3 separate regions of the Homo sapiens genome follow, and all the other regions are linked to region 1. Evidence: promoter capture Hi-C in 16 types of primary human blood cells and fetal thymus (Javierre and others, 2016). All regions are on one chromosome and are shown on one strand. Each heading gives the region's core, a stretch centred on a gene start or on the middle of the fragment in contact. The rest is flanking DNA. Distances are from core to core; before and after follow the strand shown.

Region 1 (3,426 bases), core at 733-3,232:
CCCAGGGAGGGCCCCTGGCTGCACTATGTTCTCCACGTCTTGCTGCGGACATCCGGCCACCTACTTTCTTGGCTTTTGTTCACCCTGCTTTGTTCTTCTATTTGTCGAACTGTCTTCTTTTGTTTTTCCTTTTCAAAAAGCAGGATAATTCATGCAGAGAATTCATTTTTTGAGAATATCAAGGCCTTTTAAGAAAGTTATTGTATAGGCTGGTCATGGTAGCTCATGTCTGTAATCCCAGCACTTTGGGAGGCCGAGGCAGGTGCGTTGCTCAAGGCCAAGAGTTTGAGACTAGCCTGACCAACATGGTAAAACCCCATCTCTACTAAAAATATAAAAAATAGCCAGGCATGGTGGCGTGCCTGTAGTCCCAGCTACTCAGGAGGCTGAGGCAGGAGAATCACTTGAACCCGGGAGGTGGAGGTTGCAGTGAGCCACTGTACTCCAGCCTGGGTGACAGAGCCCCTGTACTCCAGCCTGGGTGACAGAGTGAGACTCTGTCTCCAAAAGTATATAAATAAATAAATAAATAAATGGAAAGTTATTGTATAAATTATAATAAGCCAAGGCAATAAACTCCAGTAGGCTCATCTGCAAAGCCCCTAAATTCCTTCTCCCCTCTAGCTGCTCCTTTTGGCTGGAGCCTGCCTTCATTATCCATCACAGCCTCTCCACTTGGAATCCTATGTCCCCAACCCCTATGCCTCCCCAGACCCTGTCATTTCTCCCTGGCAGCCGTCTCACATAGAGGCTTCTCAAAGTTGACCCGACCAGAACAGAATTAGAGCAACCTCTATTAGGCAGCAGAATGTCGTTGTAGAGAGGGCAGGGCCTTTACCTCTGTGGGCACTGGGGTGTGTCTCCTTAGGACACCCCTGCCCATTACTCTCTCCTTCTCCAAATGGGGAGCATGGCTGGGGCTCCCTAACCTCCTGCTTGCGAGGCCTCTCTCTGGCCTCTGAGAGGGTCAGTGTCCTGCCCCAACCCATGAGATGACAGACTATAATAGCCACAGGATTAACATAGCAGGCATTGTCTTTCTCTGACTATAGGGTGGGTATTATGTGTTCATCAACCATCCTAAAAATACCCGGTAAACAGGTGCAGCCCCTGTGGCTCCAGTCCCCTGGGATCTGTTGGCTTCTGGCTGGAGATGAAGATTAGGGCAGAGGAGAGGTGAATTAGTCTCACTGAGTTCCAGGCATGAGACTCGGGTGTCCTTTGGAACCTGGGAAATCTAGATTCCAGGAAACCCATCTGGAGGGGGATGCAGAGTGTCTGCAGACCCTCAGACCTCCCTGAGCATAAAGGTGTGCCCTGCTGCCACTGCCATTCTGCTCAGCCCTGGAAACACTCACTGGGGTCAGCCTGCAACACTGCTCACATCACTCCCCACAGCCAGGCACCCTCGTATCCCACGTGCACCAGAGCCACTGAAAAATCCCTGAAAGCTGAGTCTTTAGCCCTCTTGGGCTTTTGGGGCATGGGTTCAGGGGCCTCATTTCCATATTGCCTTATAAGAGATGCAGGGTTAGCCCAATGGTCCTCTTCCCCCAGCTGCTACTTGCCCCTCTGGGCCTTCACTGTGGCCCTTTGCTCTCCCTCATTCCCCCTCCCAGTCCCATCTCTGCTCAGTCCCCACACCTGGTCTGGCTGCTCATTCTTTCCCTTTCTGCAGCTCGAGTCTCCCCAGGTGGGTGCTGGTTTCACTCAGTTGGTGGCACCTATGTGCACAGAATTTGCCTCTGCTCCTGAGCCACAAATTCACATGGCTTTCCGCCTATGTGCCTGTTGTGTGCATTGCAGCACGCATCTGCCCTGTGAGGTGTGTGTGTGTGTGTGTGTGTGTGTGTGTGTGTGTGTGTGTGTGAAGGGTGGGAGGGAGGAGGGGCAGCAGGAGGGGGCAGTGGGTCTGTTCTATTTTTACCAGCCAGTTGCTGCTGGACACAGTTTTCATAGCCTCCCCTCGGCTCTGCCCCTCACAGTCTGCAGTCTACGGCGAGGCACAGGCCAGCCCAGCTCCACGAGGACTGAACAAGGTAAGCGTCTGCAGCCCAGAACTTCAGATGTAGGTTGATCCCAGGCAGAGAACCTGGGGCTTTTGTTTAAGGAGAAAGCGAGGTCTTGGAGCTGGAGAAAACCATTTCTTGCCTGTGCAGTTGGTTTGTTGGTAGAACATTCCTAAAATACTCCCACAGCATTTTGTCCCACAGAATGGCATCTCTCCTGCAAAACTGTTGTGAGAGGTGAAACTTTTTCCTGGCCATTTGGAGGCTGTGAGCAAGGAGCAGAATCTTCCGTGAGGTTCCTTAGGAGCCCCAGGGCAGAGCCTAAGGGATGATGTTTTCACACAGGATGCCCAGCAGAGTGTGGGAGGGAGAGCGCACCCAGGGGAAGGGGTGGCCCTGGGATCAGAGAGCCAGGGTGAGTGCTCAAAGTCAGCAATGCCTGCAGCGGAAGAGAAGGAGGGTGCCTGACGCGCAGGACTCCCAGGGAGCCTAGAAGGCAGGGCCAGAGCTCCCTGCTGGCCAAGGAAACCATCTTGCTTCTGTGTTCTTTGTCTCTGAGCGACGCTGTTAGCTCCCTTTGCCTATCCCTCTGTAGTGTAGCACAAGAGCAGAGGAGGGCAGACCGGCAACCCCTCTTGACTGCTCCTGCTCAGAGCTCCTGGCTCTGAGAAGCAGCAGTAGATACTGGGGGTCCTCTTGGAGGAAGGCAATGGTGGCGGCATTTTGGGTTGGGGCACAGGAGCCAGTGAACACATAAGCCAGGGCAGTATCTACAGGGTAACCCAAGGCTTGGGGCAGGGGGCCGTGTGGCGGTCCCTGACTCAGGTGGGGGCTGAAGGCAGCACCTGCCACCAGGTTTGGGAGTCACAGTCCCACAGCAGCTCTGAGATTAGGCTTTGCTGTTCAGAACTCAAGATGGGGGCAGCCCAGCGCCATGCACTTGGGAGTGTTAACCGTCAGTCAAGGAAGACAGGGATGCCCTTGAATGGGGGTCCAAGGTCAGGGGGCGGGGAGCAGGGGGAAGCACATGAGCCTAACTAGATACTTGTGGACGTGATCATTGGGTGTGCAAAGAGATCAGTTCTTTCCCCTACATATACACGCTCTCTCTCTCACACTCACACTCTCACACACAGTCACTTACACACACTTACACACACAGACTCAATCTCATAGTCTAGCGGATAGTCCCTTCCACGCTGCAAAGCCTCAAGGAAGGGAAAGCCCAGCTCTGAGGCAACCACCAGAGACTCTTTGCTCCCCCCCTCGGGGGGAGGATTTTCTCATTATCTCCTTGCTTGCTACTTGTAGAGGAGATGGAATCCTGGCTCTCCAAGCCTTCCAGTGGCTGCTATCTTCATCCTGACTTATCAGTCCTCGCTTGTCTTCCACAGAGCCTGGCAAGGGCCCCCGTCTG
Region 2 (3,636 bases), core at 106-2,605, 520 kb before region 1:
CTAAAGTCTTCTTCCACTCTTCCTATCAAGTCTGCCTGCCTTCCTTCTGCCCTTCAGTCCCCCCAGTGGACACCATTCCCCTCTTCAGCCTTAACCTAAAGTTGGACTAGTGGACATTAAATGGCACGGCCAAGTTTTAGTCCCAGACGATCCCTGGACTCAGCAAATGCTGATCAAGTGACTGTCTCTCTCTGGCTTAGGATGGAAAGATGCCAGGAAAGATCGAAGCATCTACCCTGATGGGTTACACCAGGGCTTCTAGAAGGGATTTTGTGGCAGGAGGAAGGGGGGCAGGGGATTGAATGTCTCTGTGACTTGTGCAGGGCAGCATGATGGATGAGCAGTGGAAAGCCCTTCTATGAAACATGCCAGACCTGTTGCAATCGTATCTCTCCCGACGGCCCAGAATTCTGTTTCCCTGAAGACATACTAAATCGTGCTCTGGATTTATATGTGGGTGGTGACCTGCCTCTGTGCTCCCAAAGGAGGTCTGTCTACAGATGCCCGGCAGAGGAAGAAACAGATGACAACAGGGGGAGGTTTGAACCCTCTTCCCAAGAGCCTTGGAACTTCATGGAAAGTGACAGCCCTTTAAGAGTTTCCCGACTTCTGCAGATCCTTCTCTCTTTCCCAAACAGCCTGCCAGTTTTCAGTTTTGGTACACAGTAAGGATTTATTCTCTCTCTCTCTCTCTCTCTCTCTCTCTCTCTCTCTCTCTCTCCCTCTCCTGCCTAGCTATCTCTATCTCTAAGTTTGTCTTTCTGTCTCCTGTCTCTCTCTTAAGAAGTGGCCAAAGGATCCTGGAGCCTCTGATGCTCAGCCTTCAGGTCCTCCTTGGCAGAACCTGGGTAGAAAGAAAATGGGTAGGCAGGGGGTTAGGAGTAACAGCTCCTCATCTTGAATCTAGACTTTCCTGGAGCTGTATACACCTGGGAGCCCCCCAGCACATTACCAAATACTGTAGAAGGAAGTCCATGAACCACACATTGACCACAGTGATACGTCCACCCGGTGATGGAGTAGTAAAATACGCTCTTGAACGTGCCCCGGGCTGGCGAGTTCACCGGCCCTCATGGCCTCGTCCCTGCTTGTCTGGCTCTCCGTGGCTGTGATCTGCTTCTGCCAGCCTACGCATTTTTGTATCTTTTTCTCATTGCGTGGCCCCTTGTCTTTAAAAGGCTAAACTGCTCTGTACTAAATTTGGTCACGCAGCGCTCCAAGATTCCCTGGAATGTCCTCAAGTTTCAAACAGCTCTGACAGCGAGGTAGGCCCGCCCCCAGCTTGGGGATTGGCTTCTCCTCTCCGGGCCTGGCAGTTGTCGGGTCTTATTGGCCGCTGATTAGACCAGCCGGGGTCCACTAGCCCTGGGCTTCAGGGAGGCTGCTGCGTCCAGTGAACACTTCAGCACCTGTAGCACAGAAGGGCCAAGGAGCTGCAGTCCTCGACCAGCAGGAGGTTTGCTCCTCAGCCCACTCGCTGCATCCAGATCAGCTCACCCCTCTCCCTTCCCTGCCCACCAGGACTCTGATAGCCCCTGGCAGCCACAGCCCATTTTGCCAAGATGTCTAGAGTAGCCAAATATCGCCGGCAGGTGAGTGAAGACCCCGACATCGACAGCCTGCTGGAGACCCTGTCTCCCGAGGAGATGGAGGAGCTGGAGAAGGAGCTGGACGTGGTGGACCCAGACGGGAGTGTTCCCGTGGGGCTGCGGCAGAGAAACCAGACGGAGAAACAGTCCACGGGTGTGTACAACCGGGAGGCCATGCTCAACTTCTGTGAAAAGGAGACCAAGAAACTTATGCAGAGGGAGATGTCCATGGATGTGAGTGAGCACAGCCCTGGAGGGGAGGAGGGAGACAGGGGAGGGCTGGAGACCCTGGCTTCATGATTAGGATGCTTCCTTCCTTAGAAGAAACGTTCTTGTTGGCAAAGGATTTTAATGCTTCAGAACTGATGATTATCCACTGAACTAGCGGTGCGAATCTCTTACTCCTAATTTCTGTTTTATAAGCAGAAGTCGGATATGTTGGAGGAACACAACATCCCACAAAATCAAATAGAGCTACTAGTAGAATGGGAGCTGGAAGGTGTCCTTGAAGAGTCCATTGTCAAGTTGACTCCATCCTGGTCCCACAATACCTTTGTTTTTCTCCACACTCATTCCATCCTATTGTGAGGAGGGGTAAAAAGAGAGAGTGATACTTTATGTCTCCTGTCAGCCACCCAAAAAGACAAAGCTAAGCCATTTTTTGTGGGAGAATAACTCATTTTCAAGTCCCCAACCCTATGGGCATCTCACGGCACATGGATCATTTCAGGAGGCTTGGGGGTAAATGAGTTTCCCAAAGCAAAGGGAGACAGGGACCAGGAGTCTATGGGCTGGGAAATGTGGCTTAAAGACCTGATAAGCTTCAAATTTATTCCCAGGGAAGATGTTTTTTGTTGTGGTTAGTTGGTTTTTGGTTTTGTTTTGTTTTTGCACTCTCCAGAGGAGCCTCTGGAGGGAGCATGCCCTCTTTTTGGTAATTAACCCTTTAGCAGCTGGCGAGGCCGCTTTGCTGGGGGTTGAAGATAGTCATAGAGGAGGGAAAAGGGGTGACGGTTTTGGAAGCATCTGCCCACACCTACAATGGGCTTAAGCACAACTTGCTTTCTGTTTTCCTGAGTTGGCATGGAGGAATTTTTTTTTTGTCACTATTGCATTGGTATGTGAGTTTTCTTTGGACAAACTAGCCTCCGATGAAGTATGACTTTGTGGGATACCTTTGTCCATGGGAAAGAGTGTTGCATAGGAAAATTGTTCAAGTCTTTGTTCTAGTTCTCTTATTCAGCCACATCTCTTGTACATTATCCATTACTTGTGAATTCTTGCAAGAAAAAGATCAGTCTCAATTCTTGCTTTTTGTTTTACTTCTATGGAAACTGAGGCACAGAGCTTCAAATGACATGCACATTCTCACAGAGGAACTGAGAATGGGAACATTATCATCCAAAATGCCTGCGGAATGACTGGCTGGGTATGAAATTGTGTTGACTGCTAGTCACAGAGCATATTGGTGGACACAGCCCTGACTCCTTTAGTGTAGCAATGGGAAAGAAGGGAGGAGGAGGGAAGGGGGTGAAGCAAAGAGGAGCTGGAACTCTGTCTCTGTCCCTACCGCCCCCCCCCGCCCCACCACCTATGTTTAAGCCTTTGCCAAGAAGAGGGAGAAGGAGGGAGGAAGGAGGGAAGCCAGGAGGCTCAGGAATTTATTGTCCTGTATGCACAAGGTGGTTGCCCCAGATGCAGCTATGATAATGATAAATAAAACCAAAACATTTACAGAAAAAGTGGTAGCACTTACTGTGAGGGCCCGGTACCCCAACACAGCTATCAGGAATCATACAGAAAGAAATGAAATGCAGCCAAAGGCTTTGGCACCCTTGGAAATCGTTGACTCTGCTCTTCCCCACTCCCAGTCGCAGGCTCTGGGCCCATGACTGCCTTGTGTCCGGTAGCTTCCAGTGCTCAGAAAGGTACTCCTGAGGCTGAAGTCAAACAAAGCAGTCTAATCACAAGCAAGAGTGTGAAGGATTCTCCTGTTCCTGGAAATTTCACTATCATAGACTTTTTATTCAGCCAGTTAATACCGTGA
Region 3 (3,754 bases), core at 641-3,140, 550 kb after region 1:
TCACTCCCACTGCTCAAGCAAAGACGGTTGTCAAGACAGGGCTAGCAAGAGTGTTTATTGAGAAAGATGAATTCACAGAGATTTTGAGGTTCCTGGCTGAGTGATGGAGACCTCAAAAAACGCCTGGTGAGCGATTTCAGGACCTTCTGTCCAGAGGGAAAGACCAGAACAACTTCCAGGTGAGTCCTGCCGCTTCACAGGGGGAGAAGTGTCACCAGATTCAATGCAAGGGTTTTGTGAGTGAGAAGGGCAGGGGGTCTGACTTGGAGAAGGTATTTCTCTGAAAGCAACGGCTATTGTGGGAGACGGGAGAAAGCACAGCCAGAAATCAGAATGGCATTTGGGGGTCTGGGTTAGATATTCTGGTGGGTTCTCTTCCCGATGGGACAGAGAAGGAAACCCACTTCCCTTCTGTCTACTTGGTGAATCTGCGGGTCTCCGAGTTGCTGTCTGCTACATCTCATAGCACCTATCTTGGACTGGACAAAATTAGCTCAGGTACCCTGCAGGCTGAGAGGGAACAGCTAGTCACAGGAGCCTGGTTTAGGGGAGTTCAATTGTTCTGAGGTTCCGGGGAAACCGATGGAGGAGGCCTTGGGAGTCCAGGCAGCGCGCGAGGAAATGCGATGCCGGCCCGAGCAGCTTGCTGCCGCCAGAACAGGCGCGTCTGGGGAGCTCAGTCCCCTCCGGGACCTCTGGCCTCCTCTCGATGCTCCGCTGCCGCCCACCTCCAGCGGCCCGGGGCAGCTACCAGGAGGCCGAGGCAGTGTTCGCGGCCTGGGCCCGGCAACGGAACACGGAACTGTCGTCCCTGGAGAGCGAGGAGGCTGAGCTGATCCTTCGCGCCAGGCGGCCGGTGCGCCCGCAGGCCCCGTCCAGCGCCCGGGCTCGGAATGAGCGGTCCAGCAGGAGGTAGATGAGCGGGTTGGCGCAGCTGTTGACGAAGGCCAGGCAGGTGGCAATGGTGAGGCCCCAGCGCAGCGCCAGCAGCAGGGGGCACGGCAGCGGCAGCGCCCCCAGACGCGCCAGGTGGAAGACGGCCCGCAGGGCGCTGAAGGGCAGCCAGGAGCCCACAAACGTGCTCTCGATGGCGAAGATGATGCGCAGCGAGTTCCTCCGGGCCCGACCCACGTGCGGCGGCCGTCGCAGGCGGCGCGAGATGCGGCAGTAGCAGAAGAGGGTGACGACCAGGGGCAGCACGAAGGTCAGCAGCAGCAGCAGCAAGCTGAGGCCCTGGAAGGCGTGGGAGGGCTCCTCGCCGCACTGGCTGTCCTGGCCCCCAGGCAGGGGCTGCAACCCCCGGTAGACCAGGGAGGGCAGGCCGGCCAGCAGCGCCACGGCCCAGACGCCGCAGCACGAGGCCAGCGCGCAGCGCGGGGTGCGCAGTGGCCTCGCCTCGAGCAGCTTCACCACGGCCAGGTAGCGGTCCACGCTCATGCCCGCCAGCAGCAGCGCGCCCGCGCAGCGCGTGCCCGCCAGCGCGAAGCTGCTGAGCTTGCAGAGGCCATCGCCGAACGGCCAGCGGCCGCCTAGCGCCGCCGCCGCGGCCCACAGCGGCAGCGTGAGCACGAAGCCCAGGTCAGCTGCCGCCAGGTGCAGCACGAAGGTATCCACCAGCCGCCGCGGGCCCCGCCGCCCGGCCAGCAGCCACACCACAAAGGCGTTGCCCAGCAGGCCCACGGCGAAGGCCGCCAGGTAGAGCGCGGGGATGTAGACGTAGCCGTAGGGCAGGTCCCCGGCCGGACACAGCTCCAGCTCCTCCAGGCCGTCCAACCCCGAGTAGTCCCAGGGCGCTGACCCCGGGCTGGGGCTCCAGGGCTCTGTGGGGGCCATGGCCTGGCTATGAGGCCTGCGCGGAGTGCAGCCCTGGGCGCAGGCGGCAGCAGCTCTGAGCAGGAGGGGGTTTGCTCTTCACGCCCGGCCCTGCACCTCCCTTCCTGCCACCCAAGCCGGAGGCAAATGGGTGGGCAGGAAAGAGGGGAGGGAGGAGGGGATGGGGTGGGAGGGGCAGGCTTCTGTGAGAGAGATGGTGGCCTCCGATTTGGGGCTGACCCGAGGGGTAAGGGCAGGGACAGGCAAAAGGGGCTTCACATCTAAATCTTGGGAGGAAAAGTCTTCAGGGCTGGGAGACCTGCCCGGCCTCCCAGTAGGAGCGTGGCCCATTCCTCTATTAGTTGCTCAGTTTCTTTGTTCGTGAAATCGGGATACTTGCCCCACTGTCTCAGGGTCGCGTTGCAAGAGGTGGTGGGTGCCCGAGAGCCCTAACCTCTTCTCAGCCTCCACTTCACCCCTTCCCACCTGCACCCACCGGCTGCTGTCTTCTCTGTTTTAGAGGTGAGAAGACAGAGCCCCGGGATTTTATGAGTATGGGGCCTAAGGCACGCCCCACCCCAAATCCACCTGTTCCCTAGGAAAGACTCCACTGCCGGGACACAGCAGATCTGGGTGGGTGGGGGAGCCCGCCCTGGGCAGTCAAGCAGTTGTTAGCGTCCTGAGATGTGGGGCTCATGTCTTCACCCTATGAGTGGCTTCTCTGACCCAGTCAGGTCCTCATGAAGCCACGCGAAAGGGTTTTAAGGCAGCGAGGAAGGGGTGTAGTCAGATCATCCTGCTGGAAAGGGGTGAAACCTGGGATTCACATCTGCCTCTTCCCTGTCTTCTCCTATCCTAAAAAACCTGTCAAGCCAGACACAGATGTAAGCTCAGTTCAAAAGATGACACCTAATGAAACACCAGATTAGTTGTCCTAAATTATGAGTCAGGAGCTTGGAGGCAGCAAGATCCCTTCTGAACTGAGAAACTGAGAGTAAGGGGAGGATTCATAAAGACGAGGGGGAATGAAGTCTGACCCTGAGGAGGCAGTGGGACCTAAGGAGGAGAGGATGGGTGAGGGAAAGCTTGCTCTTTCTCCTGAAGGAGGCATGCAGCCACTTACATCTGAATTCTTCTTAGCAGATATCCCTTCCACAAGATATTGTGGTAGAACTGATGTCACAGTGCCCTCTGAGTCTGTCCCCAGTGTTCCCAGGTATGAGTGGCTGATGTGCCGGGCAACCCGGTGTGGAAAATTTGAGGTGGATTATCAATTTTGTTCGATTAAGACTTGTTAACAATGAACTCCTCCATGAAGCAGGCACTGTTTCAGGCACTGCAAGAGATGCCATTCTTGGCCTTCGCAGTTTGTTGCATAGGCAGGAGAGATGGTTACATAAGCAGAATCTTATGTAATCTTATGCAGGGGCCAAATTGTAGTAAATGTTAAAAACCAAGCCCTCTTAGGGTTTAGTGGAGGGGGAGTGATTATTTTTGACGGGAGGGCTGAATCAGAAAAGGCCTTCGAGGAGATGACACTTGAGATCAGTCCCAGGAAGGAGCTGAAAGTCAAATAAGAGCAGCAGAAAAGAGAAGAAAGGGTCAGACTCGGAGGAGGGAGTAAAGGGAACAAGTATACCAAAATGAGTAGGAATGTGGGCTTTTCAGGGGACAAGCAGTCTGCCAGAGCCCAGGGTAGGAAGGTGGGGGCAGGAGATGAAGCAGGAAAGGATCATGAGGGGATTTGGATTTCAATCTATAGGTCATGGGGAGCCAGGAGGCATCGATCTGTGTTTTGAAAAGATCGCTGGCAGAACTATGGAGAAGGGAGAGGCTCAAGCCAGGGAGACCCCATAGTAGGTTGTAATTATTTGTGTCTGAAATAGATCATGAGCAGTGGGGACAGAAATGGGAGGGTATATTCAAGAGATAATTGTAACAT

What was found. The method cuts DNA at HindIII sites, captures the fragments that hold promoters and counts their contacts. A CHiCAGO score of 5 or more calls a contact.
Region 2: the fragment with the promoter of LMOD1 here is called in contact with the fragment with the promoter of TNNI1 in region 1 in 4 of 17 cell types (M1 macrophages, M0 macrophages, naive B cells and 1 more); the score reaches 10.2 in M1 macrophages.
Region 3: the fragment with the promoter of GPR25 here is called in contact with the fragment with the promoter of TNNI1 in region 1 in 4 of 17 cell types (total B cells, M0 macrophages, naive B cells and 1 more); the score reaches 6.1 in total B cells.

The regions. Positions count from the first base shown.
Region 1 is chr1:201,420,286-201,423,711 of GRCh38, reverse strand. TNNI1 (troponin I1, slow skeletal type) reads left to right here and starts at 1,982. Exons shown (of 9, transcript NM_003281.4): 1 at 1,982-2,039. The HindIII fragment of the contact is 15,457 bases long and covers 1-3,426 here.
Region 2 is chr1:201,944,267-201,947,902 of GRCh38, reverse strand. It overlaps LMOD1 (leiomodin 1), which reads left to right and starts at 1,355. Exons shown (of 3, transcript NM_012134.3): 1 at 1,355-1,823. The coding sequence starts at 1,563. The HindIII fragment of the contact is 4,460 bases long and covers 1-2,412 here.
Region 3 is chr1:200,871,117-200,874,870 of GRCh38, reverse strand. GPR25 (G protein-coupled receptor 25) reads right to left here and starts at 1,890. Exons shown (of 1, transcript NM_005298.4): 1 at 693-1,890. The coding sequence starts at 1,833. The coding sequence ends at 748. RefSeq lists an enhancer at 1,196-1,838. The HindIII fragment of the contact is 5,028 bases long and covers 1-2,899 here.